2 separate regions of the Homo sapiens genome follow, and region 2 is linked to region 1. The links are contacts of gene promoters, found by promoter capture Hi-C in blood cells and fetal thymus (Javierre and others, 2016). All regions are on one chromosome and are shown on one strand. The core of a region is centred on a gene start or on the middle of the fragment in contact, and the rest is flanking DNA. Distances in the headings are between cores, read along the strand shown. Region 1 holds the start of SDHAF1 (succinate dehydrogenase complex assembly factor 1). Region 2 holds the start of PBX4 (PBX homeobox 4).

The links. The method cuts DNA at HindIII sites, captures the fragments that hold promoters and counts their contacts. A CHiCAGO score of 5 or more calls a contact.
Region 2: the fragment with the promoter of PBX4 here is called in contact with the fragment with the promoter of SDHAF1 in region 1 in 3 of 17 cell types (monocytes, M0 macrophages and M1 macrophages); the score reaches 15.9 in monocytes.

The regions. Positions count from the first base shown.
Region 1 is chr19:35,993,373-35,996,646 of GRCh38, reverse strand. SDHAF1 (succinate dehydrogenase complex assembly factor 1) reads right to left here and starts at 1,459. Exons shown (of 1, transcript NM_001042631.3): 1 at 335-1,459. The coding sequence starts at 1,372. The coding sequence ends at 1,025. RefSeq lists silencers at 1,003-1,122, 1,153-1,212 and enhancers at 1,273-1,352, 1,613-1,662, 1,997-2,496. The HindIII fragment of the contact is 4,511 bases long and covers 314-3,274 here.
Region 2 is chr19:19,616,495-19,619,979 of GRCh38, reverse strand. PBX4 (PBX homeobox 4) reads left to right here and starts at 1,293. Exons shown (of 8, transcript NM_025245.3): 1 at 1,293-1,469. The coding sequence starts at 1,351. RefSeq lists a silencer at 1,302-1,511. The HindIII fragment of the contact is 7,939 bases long and covers 1-3,485 here.

The DNA of each region.
Region 1 (3,274 bases), core at 210-2,709:
CTCAGGGGCTCCGAGCCAGTTCTCAGCTCCACCATTTCCTCTTCCACACAAAGATGTTAAATCACTTGCCCTCCATTAGGGAGCCAACTGGGGTATCTTTGGGGGTTAAGCCAGGATGAGCCCCCTCCACAGATCTGCCCAGGGGAGAAAACTATGCCGCTTCAATCAATGTGCCAGTCTACAGGGCTCCGGAAGGAGTCAGATCCCCACACCTATCACCTCCCAGATGGTCCCTTCCAGGTGTCTGTGTGCGTGTGTGTGTGGTGGCAGGGGGGCTGGGGGTGTTTCAAAAATCCTGAAATATATAAAAGCTTTAAGACCACCAACAGGGAAGTAGACATATCCCCAATTTTATTCCCTTTGTCCAACATTCCGAGAGGGAAGGGGCAAATGAGTCAATGTTGCCCCTCAAAACCATCAAGTAGGGGCCTTTGGGGGTCTTCAGTTGATCAACCAGGGTGATAGACCCCTACCCCTTCCTCATGGTCCTGGCTTGTCACAATTAATGGGGGAAAGTTTTCCAGAAGGGGATTCCGGGCTTCTCACCGCTCATCAGGGCACCTTCCCAAAACGTTCTCAGCAAAAAGTCTGCACTTCTCAGAGTTAAATACAGGAGAGGGGAGACTCCTTGAGGAGCCAGAAGTGGGTATGTTCTCAGGGGTCAAGAGAAGGGCGTCTCAGGCTCTCCCTGTCCACCGGGGGTCGTCCTGGCTCCCCGTACCTTCGGGCAAGTAGCTCTTGGCTTGACACTGTCCAGCCCGCCAGCGTCCCAGGCCGCCCCAAGCCCTCATGGGGGAGGAGCACCGACCTGTCTCCAAGCATCGGAAAAGGCGGGCCTCCCTTGCCGTCCATCACGGGGCTCTCTAGGCCCCCTGCGTCGCCAAGGAGGAGTCTCTGACATCCCCAATTCGTCAAGCTAGTCTCTTAAGACCTCTCACCTTAGGCGGGTTCCCCAGTCCCCCCATGCAGTCAGGCGAGCCTCCTGGCTCCACCACGCCATCGAGCGAGTTCGGCTCTTCGCCTGTCACCGTCCGTCGGGGCGGGTCTCCGGTGCCCCCGTGCTGTCGTGGGGGTTCCTTGGACTGTCGCCGTCGTCAGGCTGGCAACCCACGCCGCCAGGCTCCCCGGTCGGGGCCCGCGGGCGTACGAAGGCGCCCATGGCGGTGGCGTGGCCCGAGCGTAGCAGCTGCAGCTGGCGCCGCCCGCGGCGGTACAGGTACTCGATGCGCAGCACGTCGGACCGCGGCAGGCCCGCATGCTGCCGGAACTCTGCCCGCACTCGCGCCTCGGCGCCCGGCTTCCCACGCCCGGCGCGCAGCAGATCGCGGTACAGGCTCAGAACCTGCCTCTGCAGCCGGCTGTGCCGGCTCATGACCGCGGCTAAGCAGAGACGCTCAGCGAACGACCTGCGAACCGCGGAGCCGCCACACAGCCAGCAAAGGCCAAAGGGCAAAGCCACAGCCACTTCCGCCCAGCGCTTCCCTTGGCCTCCAACTCCCGCCTCCCGCCATCCGGCGCTGCCGCGTCTGACTGGCTGTCGTTGCAGTTACGTAACAGCCGGCTGGGAGAAGTGGGCGGAGTCGCTGGTCGCGGCCTCCCACGTAGGGGACGTGTGTTCTTGAGGGGACAGCAGTTCTGGGGATCCTGGCACCGCCTGGAGGGCGTTATGTGTTCGGACTCCTAGGTCTTGGGTTGGAGGGAACAGAGGGTCCTCACCTAACTCCTGCATTCTGGGAGAAGAGGAAGCTAGGGGTTTTTTTGTGTGTGACGGGGTCTCGCTGTCGCCCAGGCTGGAGTGCAGTGGCGCGATCTTGGCTCACTGCAGCCTCGAACTCCTGGGCCCAAGCGATCCTCCCACCTCAACTCCCCTAGTAGCTGGAACCACAGACGCGCGCAACCGCGCCCGCTATTTATTTATTTATTTATTTATTTATTTATTTATTTATTATTATTATTATTTGCAGAGATGGGTCTCCCTATGTTGCCCAGAATGGCTCGAACTCCTGGGCTCAAACGATTCTCAGCCTCCCAAAGTGTTGGGATTCCAGGCGTGAGCCACCGCGCCCGGCTACCGGTTCGGACTTTGGGTCCCAAGGGCACGGGGCACTGGGAGAGACGCCGGGCACAAGCGTGCTTTTGCCGTCAGTTACTGATTCAAACCATCTTGGGAAGCTCCGTGCGTTCCCTCGTCCGGGGCAGGTCTGTGTCTGGGGTCCCAGCCCTGGGCACGTGCAGAGGGACGAGACCCCGTAGGGAAATGGCTCTCGGCCGGTTGGACAGGCTTCTCGGGCCAGGGGAAGACAAGCAGAGAGAGTGTGGGCGCCAAGCCCCCAGAGGCAGCGTGTGGCTCTAGGAGCTGGGTTGGTCGCGCCCTCTGCGGGTGGGAGTCGGGGCAGTGGACAGCGGTGTTTGGGTCCTTACCGACTGTTAAAGCCCGGAGTCCGGGACACCCTGAACAGTCGACTAGACTGCAACCCCGTTGTCCTCCCAGGAGCTTTAGGTGGTAGGCCGCAATGCCGTTGTTGTCCCCGCGGGCCGCCTGGAGGTGTCCTCGTAGCGCTAGGGAGGCCCGCAAGGACACAGCATCCTCGGGCCCCACCAGCACCGGAGCTTGGGGGACCCCTCCACCCAGCGCGCAACCGCGGCTCTGCACACTTGGGCCGGCAACCAGCTGGGGGGTCCATTCCCCTTCAGAGAGGAGAAGCTGGTCAGGGGCGGGGATTAGGCTTGGAGTCTTGGAGTCAGGGGAGAATCACAAACCACTGTGAATCCTGCCTGGCAGGTGTATGTATCTATCAAAAATACATGTCCTAGAACGGTGGCTCACACCTGTAATTCCAGCACTTTTGGAGGCCGAGGCGGGCGGACCACCTGAGGTCGGGAGATCGACACCAGCCTGATCCACATGGTGAAACTTCTGCCTCTAGGTTCAAGTGATTCTCCCTACCTCAGCCTCCCCAGTAGCTGGAATTACAGGTATGTGCCAGCACACTGGGCTAATTTTTGTATTTTTAGTAGAGGCGGGGTTTCACCATATTGGTGAAACTACAGCCTTGATCTCCTGGGATCAAGCAATCCTCTCGCCTCAACATGTCCAGTGGTTAGGATTACGTGAACATCCCACCACACCCGGCTAATTCTTCTTTTATTGTTTTTTGTAGAGACAGAGTCTCGCTGTGTTGCCCAGGCTTCACTCTGGAATTTTAAATATTTATTTTTTGTTTTGTTTTTAGAGACAGGGTCTTGCTATGTGGCCCAGATTGGTCTTGAACTC
Region 2 (3,485 bases), core at 44-2,543, about 16 Mb after region 1:
CACATCTGGAGACTGTCCTCATAGCAAATAGGCTCCAGGAGGTTCTGTGACTTTGGAGAAGAGATTCATGTCCAGGCCATTACTTTTTTTTTTTTTTTTTTTTTTTGAGACCTGGTCTCCGTCAACCAGGCTGCAGTGCAGTGGTGCAATCATGGCTCACTGCAGCCTCAAATTCCCAGGCCCAAGTGATCCTCCCACTTCAGCCTCTCAAGTCCCAAATAGCTGGGACCACAGGCGTGCACCACCACGGGGTCTCACTATGTTGCCCAAGCTGGTCTCAAACTCCCGTGCTCAAGTGATCCTCCCGCCTCTGCCGCCCAAAGTGCTAGGATTACAGGCATGAGCCACCGCCCAGTTCCTTTTCTTGTGCACTAGGAGCCTTCGATGCTGTGTCCTAAGGACTAGAAACAAAGATGTGAGGATTCGCTCTGATTTGGGGTACACTGCAGGGGAGTCTCTCAGTAAACATCCTTCCTTCATTCGGTAACCACGTGGTAGCATTTTCTATGCCCAGAACTGTAATCTGCGAAGATGAATAAACAAGCGAGGTCACTCTTCAGCTGGACCTTGAAAGGTGACTGGAATTGATTTCTGCAGTGGAGAAAAGCGCTGCGTTCTGACCTCCTCGTTGCCATCAACCACGCACGCCTGCGCCCCGCCTTAGCCAGGTGAACGGGGCGTGGAAAGCTCTAGAGGAAGAGCCAGGGGCCCCAGTGGCCCACCTGATGGGGCTGAGGATGCAGGGAGCATTAGGGGGACTGAGCAGGGGTCTGGGGCTTGGGGCTTCTGGAAATGAATGGGGGCTGTCGATCAAGCTATAAGAGGTGTGGGGTTCTGAGGAGGAGGGGGTGGCTTGGAGGAAGAGTTGGGGTGCTCTGGGGAGTGAGGGTCTCTGAGGACCGAGGGCTTTGAGGAGAAGGGGGCCCTGAGGAGGAGCAGGAACTCTGAGGAGATGCGAGTGGGGCTGAAGGAGGCGTGCACCGCGCGAGATGTGAGGGATGGGGGCCTCTGGCTGGAGCGGAGCCAGCGCTGCCCTCTCTCAAGGGGAAGGAGGGCGCTTATGAGAAGTGCCGTTGCCTCGGCAACCCCAAACCCAGTCCAAGCCCGGAGAGGGGGAAGTTCGGGGCGAGTCCCGGGGGCGGTGCGTGGCGCCGGTTGGCTGACGGAGATGAAGGGGCGTGTCTGTAGGCGGTGCAATACACGGGTTGGCTGGCGATAGCGGCGGTGGGCGTGGCTTAGGCGCGAGCGAGAGCGGGCGCGGCGCTCAGGCAGCGGCGGTTGGCTGCGGCGCCAGTGGTAGTGCTCCAGGCTCGACGGCACCCTCACAGCGCCCGCCCGGCCCTGCCGCTCATGGCCGCCCCGCCGCGCCCCGCGCCATCGCCCCCCGCCCCGCGGCGCCTCGACACGAGCGACGTCCTGCAGCAGATCATGGCCATCACCGACCAGAGCCTGGACGAGGCACAGGCCAGGTGCTGCCCGCGGGCTCGGCAGGGGCCACGCAGGGTCGTGGCAGTGAGGTTGGCGGGCTGAGGGGACGGGGCGTGGAGGCCAGACTGACGAGGGGCGCTTGAGGAGGGCTGGAGGGGGGTCCCGAGGACGAAGGGATGTATGGGGTTCAAACGGAACGGGCTGGATAGGCCTTATGGGGCCGAGCAGTGGCGTGAAGGATTTTCAGCAGCTCATCTTGGGGCGAGAAGGTTGGGTTTAGGGGTTTAGGGAGTAGGGCTGAGAAATGGGCACGTACGGGACTTTTGACGAGTGAATGACTAAATGGGTACGTTAATGGGACTCCTGCGGCTGGAAGTTTTTTTGTTGTTGTTTGACACGGTCTTGCTCTGTCGCCCAGGCTGGAGTGCAGTGGCGTGATCATGGCTCACTGCAGCATCCACCTCCCCGGCTCAGTTGATTCTCCTGCCTCAGCCTCCCGAGTAGCTGGGACCACAGGCGCACGTGCAACCACGCCCGGCTGATTTTTTTGTATATTTTGTAGAGACAGGGGTCTCGCTATAGTTGCTTAAACTCCTGGGTTCAAGCACTCATTCCGTCTCGGCCTCCCTAAGTGCTGGGATTACAGGCGCGAGCCACCGAGCCCGGCCTGTGGGTGGGAAGTTTCCAGGGCAGATGATGGAGAGTGAGTGGCTGGGAATGGGACTCAGGAATGTCTGCAGGAGACTGAAGAACTGAACTGGGGTAACTTGGTGTGGGAACCATCGAGAACTTTTGGGAAAAGGGTTAGTAGAGGAGTGGGTGGAGATGGAAGACCTATTTTCTTTTTAATGAATTCAGCAAATTTTTATTGAATCCTTACAATAACTGGATAGGGAACCGGGTGCTGACATAGTCCCTGCTCTCGAGTACATGATTTAGGGGAGGGAATGTAAATAGCAAAAAATAAGGACTGGGTGGAGTGGCTCACATCTCTAATCACAGCACTTTAGGAGGCTGAGGCAGGAGGATTGCTTGAGCTCAGGAGTTCGAGACCAACCTGGACAATGTAGTAAGACCTCGTCTCTACTAAAAATAAAATTAAAAAATTAGTTAGGTGTGATGATGCAAGCCTGTAGTCCCAGCTACTTAGGAGGCTGAGGCTGCAGTGAGCCGAATCAAGCCATTGCACTCCAGCCTGGGTGACAGAGCTAGACCCTGTCTCAAACAAAAGCAAAAAAGTATAAGCCAGGCATGGTAGCATGGGTAGGTAATCCCAGCTGCCTCCCAGTGGGAGGATCACTTGAGTCCAGCAGTTTGAGACCAGCCTGGGCAACATAGTGAGACCATCCTGTACCAATCTGAGAAAAGAAAAAAATAAAATAAATGGCAATAAAAGCTGTAGGGATAGGGGTTGCATGCTATAGGAAGCCAGGTGGAGAAGAACATCTTTGGAGAGGACAGCACCTTCAGAGGCCCTGAGGTGGGAAAGAGGATGTAAAAAGCGGAGTCTGGCTGGGAAGAGAAAGTTCCTAGCCAGGGAGGGAAAGAGTTGAGTTTAAAGGAAGGCTGGGGCCAGGTGCGGTGGCTCACGCCTGTAATCCCAGCACTTTGGGAGGCCAAGGCAGGTGAATCACGAGGTCAGGAGTTCAATACCAGCCTGGCCAACATGGTGAAACCCAGTCTCTACCAAAAATACAAAAATTAGCTGGGTGTAGTGGTGCACACCTATAATCCCAACTACTTGGGAGGCTGAGGCAGGAGAATCACTGGAACCTGGGAGGCGGAGGCTGCAGTGAGCCGAGATCACACCACTGCACTCCAGCCTGGGCGACAGAGCGAGATTCCGTCTGAACAAAAAATAATAATAATAATAAAGGGAGACTGGAACCCAATTACATGGGGCCTACGAATCTCAGTAAAGAGTTTTGTTTGTTCAGCCAGGCACAGTGGCTGACACCTGTAATCCCTGCACTTTGGGAGGCCAAGGTGGGCAGATCACCTGAGGTCAAGAGTTCGAGACCAGCCTGGCCAACATGGCAAAACCCCATCTCTACTAA